3 separate regions of the Homo sapiens genome follow, and regions 1 and 2 are each linked to region 3. The links are contacts of gene promoters, found by promoter capture Hi-C in human tissues and cell types (Jung and others, 2019). All regions are on one chromosome and are shown on one strand. Each heading gives the region's core, a stretch centred on a gene start or on the middle of the fragment in contact. The rest is flanking DNA. Distances are from core to core; before and after follow the strand shown.

Region 1 (3,823 bases), core at 835-3,334, 260 kb before region 3:
TTTTTTTTTTTTTTGAGACAGAGTCTTGTTCTGTCATCCAGGCTGGAGTGCAGTGGCACAATCTTGGCTCACTGCAACCTCTGCCTCCCAGGTTCAAGTGATTCTCGTGCCTCAGCCTCCCAAGTAGCTGGGACTACAGACGCACGCCACCATGTCTGGCTAATTTTTTGTATGTTTAGTAGAAATGGGGGGTTTTACCATGTTGCCCAGGCTGGTCTCGAACTCCTGAGCTCAAGCAATCCACCCACCTCAGCCTCCCAAAGTGATGGTATTACAGGTGTGAGCCACCATGCCTGGCCTGCAAGTTACCTCTTGATTTAAAATATTTTCCAATCATGAAGGAAATTGACTTGATTCTGCTACTTCCCTCCACCTCTGACTTTGGGGGTAGGGGACAGATAAGCAGAAACTGCTGAACATGACCCTCAGCCGGCTGGGCAGCCATCCCTCAGCCACAGTGAGCTTGATTTGCGTGTTCCAGTAGGAAGCAAGGAGTCAGGTCCTTCTCTAGTCCTGGGGAACAGGAGAAGGGTGGGGGAACCCCTGATTCCTCCCCTTCTGTAGCCAAAGCAGACTAGTTTAGGGAGGAGACAGGGAAACCACCAGAGCAGGTCAAGATCAACCTGAAGGAAGTGGGAGTCAGGGACAACCTACTAAAGGAAGTGCATGTGTGCCTTGTACATGCATGGGGTGGACCAAGGAAAAGATTTACCCTAAAAGAACAAAGTATGCTCCGACAAATCTATTGAAAGGAATGATTTACACTGGTGCTTCCTGCCCAAATGTTGAGACCAATGGCCTGGTGCTTCCTTCTTGAAACTAGGTTGCTCTACTTACATGAAACAAACTGGGCAGAGGTCAACCGTGAGAGCCTGAGCCTCCCCAAGTAAACAGCAAAAGATTCCCCAGGCCCAACAGCCCCCACCCCCACCTTCAAGGAAAGTGGATCTACCCGGAGCACGTAGGCCAGAGGAGGCAGGAGAAGAGGGTCAGTCCGTGAGCTCCGGGTACCTGGAGAACATGAATCTCCCGGGTGTACTGTCCCCATGAGGGTCACCGAGGAACCTATGGATCTTCCACTCTTCGCCCAGAATGTCTTCCCTCTATCCCCTCCACCTCCCCAAATTCCAGCACCAGGGGCCACCTCAGAGCCACAAATCCTGAAAGGACCACCCAGGTGACTCGGGCCCACACACCCCTCTTTCGGGGTACACTTGGTGGCAGGCTAGCAGGCTTTTGGCCTCAGCTGGTGGTGCCATATAACCAGATTCGTCACAGAGACCCATTTTTTATCAGTCCCAGGCCAGAAGTACGAAGACTGATCTTAACGATGTGGCCTGCCTGGGAGGTAAGGCGGCAGGCGTTGCCAGAATTGATGGGAACTGTGGCACAGGTGGGAAACCTGGTTTAACAAATTCTTCATTGATTCAGGGGACCACTTTCCTTGAGCCAAGTCTTGGCAAGCGGCCGGCGAAACTCACAGGTCCCTTTCCTGGCTGCGTCCCCAGCCTCCAGCCTTCCCCGCCCCAGAGATGCCCCAGGAGCGGCCCCTCGGTGTAGGTAACGGGTGCCCGGGCGGCTCCGCTCCGCCGCCTAGAGCCTGGAAGCCGCCACTGCGGCCCAGGACAATCCGGCTACGCGGCCGGCGCCGACCCCGCACGCTGGAGTCCGCTGCCGCACGGCGCTGGCAGTCGGGGGTGGTGTCTGAAGTCAGGCGCTTCCTGCCTTTTCGTCGGCCCGGGTGCCCGGCTCGCGCCGCCAGGCTCTGGGATCCCAGGTCGCCCCGCCCAGCAGCCCGCGCCCTGCTCGGTGCGCTCAGCGTCCCCGCCCCTTACCCCAAACCCCCACCCTCTGTGCCCTCAGGGGGGCACCCCCATCGGGGCGGGAGGGGGGGGTCAGCTGTGCCCCGGTCGCCGAGTGGCGAGGAGGTGACGGTAGCCGCCTTCCTATTTCCGCCCGGCGGGCAGCGCTGCGGGGCGAGTGCCAGCAGAGAGGCGCTCGGTCCTCCCTCCGCCCTCCCGCGCCGGGGGCAGGCCCTGCCTAGTCTGCGTCTTTTTCCCCCGCACCGCGGCGCCGCTCCGCCACTCGGGCACCGCAGGTAGGGCAGGAGGCTGGAGAGCCTGCTGCCCGCCCGCCCGTAAAATGGTCCCCTCGGCTGGACAGCTCGCCCTGTTCGCTCTGGGTACGTACGCCGGCTGCGGCGCCCCCTGCGCCGCGCGACACCCTGCTTCCCCCGGTCCCCGCCGAGTTCCCCTTTCCGGGGGTTTCTGCGCCCGCCTGGGAGAGTGGAGAGAAGCGAGTAGTCTCAATGGGTTGGCGCCTGGGAGGCAAGGGGAGTCATTAAGAATGACAAAGAGGGGACTGTCCGGTCGAGCGCCGAGGCTTCCCCGGGAAAGTGGCTGCCTGGGCCGTGCGTGAGAACACCTGGGAAGGGGAAGCGGAGTGTGAACGGGCTTGAACTTTAATCCGCCGCAGCTGTGTGTCTGCTCAGACACATGCCTACACCTACCTGCTTACCTGGCTGCCTCCAAGCCCGGCTCAGCCGGCGTCGCTGGCGTGTAGACTGGGCCGCCTCGGAACGGGGGCCGGCGTCTAACCCTCTGGCCGGGTCTTGCCTGCGCCCCTTTGGCACCCCCTGCCCACCTCTAAGCCCCAGCGACGAGCAGAGATGTTCAAGATCGGCAGAGGCGCCCTCGATCTCTTTTCAGAGCTCTTGAGCTTTGGGGGTAGGTTTTGGATTTTTGGGCGGATTAATGGTTCCTTTAATTAACTTCCCTGGGAGAAGTGGTTTCGGTGTCCGCCGAGGGCAGGAGCGAAACCCTAGACCGAGTGTTGCCAGTTTCCTTTGAGTATGTCCTTGGAAATGAAGGAGGGATGGGAAAGGTGAGGGGAAGTTAAACCCCTCTCCCGGGTCGGGTCTGCGGAGCGGTGCGTTTTTTGGCGGTGAAGTTCAAGGGTCTGTCTGGACGCGGTGAGGGCGCAGCGCCGCGCGCCTCCTGGCCAATTCTTGCCCCTTGTGCTGGTGGGTCTCTCTGGTGTTGAGATAGCTGATCAATAGCGCAGGTGTCCTGGTTATTGCTAGTCTTCCGTGAAGTGAATTGTTCGTTCGATATGCCCCGAGTTTAACCCGTATAGCATGCGGCTCGCTGCAGGGTGGTTAGAGTCTGTGGAAAGCCATGGAACTCCTCCCCAGAAATGCCCAGAGCCGCAGCCTCACCCAGCTCCGTGTACAACTACAGGGGGTTCGCGGCCCCGCCTGCAAGCCTGCCCTAGAAACGCTGATTAAAAACCGCAGCAGAAGGGGAGGCATCCTGTAAGAGAAATACAAGGCAGTCTTGGAACCGGATGCTCCCAGCTACACCCTTACCTGAAACTCACCAGCAGGTAACATGGGTATGGGAGGCTTTTCCCCCACATTTTTGAAGAATTGCCTTTTTTGTGTGCATGTATTGACTGTTGCTCTGATTTAAATTTTAGAAAAAGCAATAAAACATTACCAATACAAGGGAAGCTTCCTGGATATAATTATCCCTTGTAATGTTTTTGCAAATAATAGTAGTAAGTAGTAGTAGTAATAACAGCTGATGCTATTCGAGCATTTTACTCTGTGTCAGACACAGTCCAAGTGCTTTACATTTATTCATGCAGTTTTCACACCAACCGGATAAAGAAGGTGTTAATATTATTCTCATTATATAGCAGAGGAAAGTAAAGCACACAGGGTCCACAGTAAGTAACTGGACCAGGATTGTCGAAGAACGTGGAAGGAATGTGAATATGAAAAGTCACCTAACTTGTGGTCATTATAGTCCCATCTCTCTTT
Region 2 (3,734 bases), core at 832-3,331, 360 kb after region 3:
TGACAGAGCTTGTCCTGAGCCACAGAAGAATTTTAAACAAGGTCACGTGTTGATTTGCACCTTGGAAGGACTGTTCTCAGGAAGCATGGAAAGCAGACGGGAGGGACCCAGAGGGATATAGGGAGACCTCTGAGGATTTTATTGCAGTAGACAGTGGGGATGAAGATGGAAGTAGACCGGTTGCAAAATATTTAGGCCTTGGAGATGGCCTAGATATATGGTTAAGGAGCAGGAGCTATCACGGACTCCTGAATTTCTGGCTTGTACAACTGGATGGAGAGTTGGATGGACCATTTAACCTCTGGTGCATGGGAGTGAGAAACACTCAGTTGGGTTTTGAATATGTTGCATTTGAGGTACCTGTGATTCATCCAATAGCTAGACTGGAGGAGTTCAGGGGAGAGGACTGTCCTGGAGATGTAACAACAGACAAACCCTCACTGAACAGGTAAAGATAAAGCAGCATCCCAACAATACACTTACCTTTATGTGCAATTTGGCTTTTGTTAATAAACTCAACGTAGTGTGTCGACTTGATTCGGGTCCAAGTGGCACCAGCCCCTTCAACTTCTCCAGGCACAAGCGAAGATGAGCCCGTCTATGAAAACAAGACCACAGTAGCATTTGAGAGTTTCACAGTGGGCCAGAAGCACCCCAGGCAGAATGAGTTCTCAAAGAGTGTGAAGTTGCCCAGGCCTTGCGATGGCAAATGCTACCAATGACCTTTTGCTGAATAAACATATTTTGAACCAGACAACTCTGGTGAAAACCAATGAGAAGCAAAATCCAAGGTTTTCGAAGCTAAGTCTATTGATAATACAAGTGCTGGGGTAGGGAATAATATCTGCTATTATATAGTCATTCACATGTGTAAATACTATATACAGTAATGGTCCCTGACTCATGATGGTTCAACTTACAATTTTTTAAATTTATAATGAGTTTATTGAAGTATTAAATGCATATTAGACTTGGGATGTTTTTTATTTATGATGGGCTTCTTGAGACATAACCCCATCATAAGTCAAGGAGCATATATATCTGTGGAGTTATTTGTTGAAGCTTTATTTGTAATAGCAAAGATTGAAACAACCCAAATGACCACCCAGGAGGGAACTGGTTAAATAAATTATGCTACATCCACACCGTGTAGTACTATGTAGCTATCAAAAAGAATGAGAATGTGCTTTATGTCCTATTAGGAAAGATTTTCCAGATATATTGTTAAGTGGAGAAAAGCAAGATTCCAAACTGTGAGTATACCATGCTATCTTAAAGATGGAGGAAAACAAGAATCTATATTCATGTTTTCTTGTATGTAGACAAACTCTGGAATGACACATAAGAAACTGGCTGGGCAGGGAGAAGGCAAGGAACAGTCAGACAGAGATAAGGAAGGAAGTGATGGGGGTTTTTACTGAGTCATTTTTTATACTTTTTGTTCTTGGAGTATGTCAGACTGATGCAATGGCACGGAGTGGGAGAGGGAGAAGGGCTGGATGAAGCAGCAGCCACGGCAACTGACTGAAGAGAGAGCACGAGAGTTGCTCCAACTGAGAAATTTACATTTCCTTGAAATGGTTTGTGCTTTATTCTAGAACCTGGAAAATTCTATGAATGTAAGAAGCAGCTGAGATTTGGGGGTTTTGCTTAAGCTTACCACCTCCTTAAAGCCTTCCCAAGCCATCCTAGCTCACAGTGATTCCTCTATTTTCTAAGCACCACTTAACTGTTTATATTATTCACTGGGAAGTTCACTGTACTGCCTGACTTGTTTCATATTTCTTACTTAACCATTCATTGCAGTCTCCTTAGAAAGTCAGGATTGCAGCTTAATCATTGCTGTGCTGTCACCGTGCCTCAAACACACACATGCTTAATAAGTGTTTGCTGAATGGATTATGTCATCTATTCAACTAGACTTTAAGCTTCTAGAGGACAGAGTCCATCTCTACTGCATCTTTGCACCTTCAGCAGTGCTCAGAGTCTTCAGGTTTTAGATAACATTCATTGCCCACACACAACCTACTTGGAGCAGAGTTCCCTGGGGTCTAGGAGGCTCCCCTCCAGCTGAATTGGGAAACAATGCAATGCCTTATAGGTTTGCCCTTTTTCCTCTTAAGAATTGTACTGTAATAGCAAAAGTTGAAAATATAGACCAAAGAAAGGAAATGGCTTCAGAAAGCTATAGGACAGGTGAATATGCATGATATTAATGTAAGAAGTCAATTCACACTCTCCAGGGAGACTTCAGGATGTTCCCCTAAGGCAGGGCTAGTAAGCAAGGCATTAGACTTCCTTCCTTCTGAGCCTCCTGCCTCTTCTAGGTCATGAGGAAGTTGTCCTAAACTCTCCAAGGGTGCTCTAAGGCTTGGCAAGCTTGGGGAGTACAGCATTCATTTCTGAGCTAGGAAGAGGTAATAGCACAAGGGCTTTACTATTTTGTAAGTCTTTCACTTCTTCTGAAAAACCTGTCCATGTGGCAGAGTCAGAGCAAAGACTCATGTTACAGGTGTGCTCCTCCCACTACTGCATGTGGTGGGGACCAGGGAAGGGAAGAAAACTTGTATGTAAAATATACTTGTTCATCTTGGATAATATTCTTCAAAAAGAGCCATGAAAATAGATCATGTTATTAGAAACACTATGAGAAAGTATAATTTATACATTTATAAATTTGTCTATTTCTTGCCATAAAACTTATAGACTAATTTTCTTTTTTTGTTTTTTTTTTTTTTTTTTTTTTTTGAGACAGAGTTCTTGCTCTTGTCGCCCAGGCTGGAGTACAGTGCCGTGATCTCAGCTCATGGCAACCTCTGCCTCCCAGGCTCAACAGATTCTCCTTCTTCAGCCTCCTGAGTATCTGGGATTACAGGCGCCCGCCACCACGTCCGGCTAATTTTTGTATTTTTAGCAGAGATGGGGTTTCACCATGTTGGCCAGGCTGGTCTCGAACTCCTGACCTCAAGCAATCTGCCTGCCTCAGCCTCCCAAAGTGCTGGGATTACAGGTATGAGCTAATTTTCCAATTAGAAGAAAAAGTTCAAAAATTAAAATTATATTTAGATATTTTTCAGCCAGCTTGTTATTTGCAAAGACTGCATGATTCAGAACAGTGTCATTTTAGTACTTTTATGATGTTGGTTTATATGCAGATATGAGTGTGTGAATTTTTTTAGGAAGTTTGTCCACTGATAAAAATATAATAAAGTCATCTTTTGATGCATTGTCATTTCTAGCCTTATAGGAGTCTTGCCCAGAAAGTGCAATTTTCACTACCCAAATGTGGGTTTCCAAAGAACACTCCTAGTCGTGAAACTAGAAATAAGCCATTTGACTAATTCCAGCTGAGACTAATACTTGTTCATTCAGTGTTTTCTGGCCTAGTTCTACAAAAATAGGACCAGAATTCTTTCTGGATTTTTGCAGAGACCCAAAGCCAACTCTGTCTTTGGCAGTGTCTGCCTTGGCCTTCTCCGGCGCCTCACTGCTGCAGCCTGATGGCTGCCCCCTGCCCACATGCCACTGCCTGCAGACATCCCCACACTGGTGCCCGGGCCAACCACAGGAGAGCAATGAAATATATTAAGTAGACTCAGTTCTATCATACAGTAGTGAAATCCAATCCCTGAACCAGATAAAAAAGCAAACAGACCCCTCTGTTATGTACAGCTCCTACCAAAGCTCTCCAACCCTGACACACACACACATACACAGACACACATACAGACACA
Region 3 (3,806 bases), core at 1,161-3,660:
GCAGTGTTCCTGCCCCAGCATGGCACCTTATTGTTTTGATAGCAACTTCGTTGAATTTTCACCAACTTATTACTTGAAATTATAATATAGCCTGTCCGTTTGCTGTTTCCAGGCTGTGATATATTTTCCTAGTGGTTTGACTTTAAAAATAAATAAGGTTTAATTTTCTCCCCACTATTGAGTCTTCTTTCCTTATATCTGGGTGGTGAATATGTAACTTTCTCAGGATGCTTCTCCTTTTAACAGGTTAAATGAGTTAAAATGTCCAGAAGAGTGGAAATTAGTTGTTATGGTTCAGATGCAGAACTGGTTCACTGTAAATGGGAAAAACTTTGAGAGGAGACTAGGACATTGTGACTTGAAGTTCATTAATGTAGAAAAGAAACTGTCTATGAGGCTAAAAAGAGAAATTCATTATCTATGTCAGGTCTCTAGCTTCAACTAAACACTAATAGCAAGTGGTAGTAAAGGTACAAAGCTATGACCCTGCTAGAAAAAATTCAGTGTCTAGGATTTTGAGTACTAAGAGAGTGCAAAATATGTGATGAGTTTAAGTCTTTACTATCATTGATATTTATATAGAGCCATTCCAGAATATCAGGAATTAACTGAATTTTTGAGAACTATCCCCTATTTAAACACAAGGTATTCTATTTTGGTTTAGTCTTCTATAATTTTGGGGTAACAACTGGGAACAAGTCCGAGACCACTTTTTACACATCTTGACATGAAAAAAGAACACCTTATATTAGAAAATGTTTGTGTGCTGCACTTCACATTTTATATACAGGGGCAATAGCACATCAGTGAGTTCTGGAGGTAGTGTTTGAAAAATTTCAGAATTCCCAGGCATGCTGGCTAACCCCTGTAATCTCAGCACTTTGGGAGCCGGAGGCAGGCAGATCTCTTGAGGCCAGGAATTTGAGAACAGCCTGGGCAACAAAGCAAGACCTCGTCTCTACAAAAAAAAATTAGCTGGGTGCAGTGGCGTGCGCCTGTAGTCTCAACAACTCAGGAGGCTGAGGTGGAAGGATTGCTTGAGGCCAGGAGTTCGAGGTTGCAGTGAGCCATGATCACACCATGCTCCCCAGCCTAGGCGACAGAGCAAGAACTCATCTCAAAAAAAATTTTTTTTGCAAGACCCCTCAGTCAGAAATAGATTCAAATTCTTGGAGACAGACCCAGTCACCTTACTCTACAATGGTTCAGAGGCTGCTAATTTACATGTTACGGGAACCCTACTTGGTCTGACAGTATGCTGTAGGGTTACCTGCCAAAAAAATATAGAGGCCCAGCCGGGAGCGGGGGCTCACGCCTGTAATCCCAGCACTTTGGGAGGCCGAGGCCAGCGGATCACGAGGTCAGGAGATCAAGACCATCCTGGCTAACACAGTGAAATACGGTGTCTACTAAAAATACAAAAAATCAGCCCGGCGTGGTGGCGGGCACCTGTTGTCCCAGCTACTCGGGAGGCTGAGGCAGGAGAATGGCGTGAACCCGGGAGGCAGAGCTTGCAGTGAGCCGAGATCGCGCCACTGCACTCCAGCCTGGGCGACAGAGCAAGACTCCGTCTCAAAAAAATATACATATATAGAGAGAGGCCCATTCCTCCAGGGATCATTATCATTTGGTATATTGGTATATATGAAGAAAATAAGCGATACGATCCACAGACATGCGGGATTGGCCGGGTTTGCCCAGGAGCTAGAGACGGGACCGTTATCTCAATATCTCAATTTTATTTTTTAAATAGAGAAGGGGTCTCGCTATGTTGCACAGGCTGGTCTCGAACTCCTGGGCTCAAGAGATCCAAAGTTCTGGGATTTACGGCGCCCGGCTTTTTTTATTTATTTATTTATTTTTATTTATTTTGGCTGTTCCATAGACAAGAGCAGGGATAACCGGCTGGGCGCGGTAGCTCACGCCTGTAATCCTAGCACTTTGGGAGGCCGAGGCGGGCGGATAACGAGGTCAGGAGATCGAGACCATCCTGGCTAACACGGCGAAACCCCGTCTCTACTAAAAAATACACAAAATTAGCCGGGCATGGTGGCGGGCGCCTGTAGTCCCAGCTATTCGGGTGGCTGAGGCAGGAGAATGGCGTGAGGCCGGGAGGCGGAGCTTGCAGTGAGCCGAGATCGCGCCACTGCACTCCAGCCTGGGCGACAGAGCTAGACTCCGTCTCAAAAAGAAAAGAAAAAGAGCAGGGATACCCACCGGTGGAATACCCGTTATCTCAATTTTGTACAAGGAAAACGGAATTCAGAAAGGTGCCTAGAGGACGCACCCCTCCGTCCTGGCCAATCGCTGAGGACATAACCGGAAGCTCAACGATGACCGAGGCGCTGAGATATCGCGAGGTGAAATGTAAAAACTGCCAACAATCCATTGGCTAACGAGGTCGATGACGCCAGACGCAAGACGCCGGGCCTACAGCGGGAGCGTGAGGAAAGCCGTGCGTTGCGTTCCAAGGCATCTGTGAGCCCGCGGAGTATACACCATGAGCAAAGCTCACCCTCCCGAGTTGAAAAAGTAAGTATGTGTGAGAGCCAAACCGAAGTGGTCAGTTATTTGCGTCCTGCGAGTCCCTTGGTTCCCTCTCCGTTAGCCGAATGTCTTGAGCCGCTTCACTTCATTTCTTCTTCCGGTCCGAGGTCGCCGGGATCCCGGCCAGGCTCCCGCGCATGAGACGTGAAGCCCGCGCAGAGCTCGCGCGTCGGTGTGGTTACAGCCGGCAGCCACGGCACCTCCTTCCGGCCGACTAGTCTCCAGGTCCCGCGGTCTGGCCCCTGGTCACCCGGCGCTGTCCCTCGTTCCTTGAAGATCTCCAGTGCTACCTTTTGTTGAACATCTCGAATAGTATCATGTTCTAGATAGACGGCTAGAGGGGGAAATTCTCTGAAGGAACTAAGGAGGGGCTGGAAGGGAAGGAAGTGTTTTTAAAACTACGTGAGGCATCAGAATCCGAAAGCCACTTTAGTCTTAGCAAATGTGTTTGTAGGTGTTTGAGCTTTTACTTAGAAACCTCATTCCTTTTTCTTGCCTTCTTTTACGTTAAGCTTGAATGTCATGTGTTATCTTGCTCTGATGTTGAAACTATATAAGAACATTCATTTTTCTTTTTTTTTAAGAACATTAATTTTTTCTAGTCAGAGAAGGCTAATTTTTTGAAGTTTTTTCTACACACCCAGTAAAGTCAAACAACTTTAAGTAGGAGAGCCTTACTTTAGGTAGGACTCAACGTAAAGCTTTGAATTCCTCAAATACTTTTTGAGTGGACTTAACAGGTTATGTGTTTCCTGACTACGTTTCTGTTTTGCTTATACTTCCTGATGCTGGAATTCTACATGTATTAGTTGGATTGCACAAAGGATGCAAAATTTTTACAGGGATCAGTTTTTTCTGGCGTAGCATGTGGTTGGCTTTGTGTATAGTTAGTTCATTTATTACCAGGCCCATGGAAGTCAGACAAAAGGTAAAGTTCCTATTTAATAATTTTGCGGCCGGGCACAGTGGCTCACGCCTGTAATCCCAGCACTTTGGGAGGCTGAGGCGGGAGGATCACCTGAGGTCAGGAGTTCGAGACCAGCCTGGCCAACATGGTGAAACCCCCGTCTCTACTAAAAATACAAAAAATTAGCCAGGCAGGTGGTGTGCGCCTGTAGTCTCAGCTATTCCGGAGGTTGAGGCAGGAGAATCGCTTGAACCCGGGAAGCGGAGGTTGCAGTGAGTCAAGATCGCGCCATTGCCCTCCAGCCTGGGTAACAAGACCGAAACTCTGTTTCAAAAAATAATAATATTTTTGC

What was found. Contacts are between HindIII fragments. The study calls those that stand out against the background at their distance.
Region 1: a contact is called between the fragment with the promoter of TGFA here and the fragment with the promoter of SNRPG in region 3, in 1 of the 25 tissues and cell types used here (adrenal gland).
Region 2: a contact is called between a fragment that was not itself captured here and the fragment with the promoter of SNRPG in region 3, in 1 of the 25 tissues and cell types used here (hippocampus).

The regions. Positions count from the first base shown.
Region 1 is chr2:70,552,087-70,555,909 of GRCh38, reverse strand. TGFA (transforming growth factor alpha) reads left to right here and starts at 2,084. Exons shown (of 6, transcript NM_003236.4): 1 at 2,084-2,182. The coding sequence starts at 2,143. LOC124907824 (a long non-coding RNA gene) reads right to left here and starts at 3,202. Exons shown (of 2, transcript XR_007086906.1): 1 at 2,518-3,202. RefSeq lists a silencer at 1,954-2,023. The HindIII fragment of the contact is 16,400 bases long and covers 1-3,823 here.
Region 2 is chr2:69,932,215-69,935,948 of GRCh38, reverse strand. It overlaps MXD1 (MAX dimerization protein 1), which reads right to left. Exons shown (of 6, transcript NM_002357.4): 4 at 484-598. It also overlaps a transcript of ASPRV1 not described here. Among named protein-coding and RNA genes, the nearest start is that of MXD1, 19 kb to the right of the region's middle. The HindIII fragment of the contact is 4,255 bases long and covers 1-3,734 here.
Region 3 is chr2:70,292,344-70,296,149 of GRCh38, reverse strand. It overlaps SNRPG (small nuclear ribonucleoprotein polypeptide G), which reads left to right and starts at 2,410. Exons shown (of 4, transcript NM_003096.4): 1 at 2,410-2,532. The coding sequence starts at 2,501. It overlaps LOC124906023 (a long non-coding RNA gene), which reads right to left and starts at 2,248. Exons shown (of 2, transcript XR_007086880.1): 1 at 2,218-2,248; 2 at 136-1,092. It overlaps FAM136A (family with sequence similarity 136 member A), which reads left to right. Exons shown (of 3, transcript NM_001329752.2): 3 at 1-174. RefSeq lists enhancers at 2,249-2,728, 2,745-3,652. The HindIII fragment of the contact is 9,687 bases long and covers 1-3,806 here.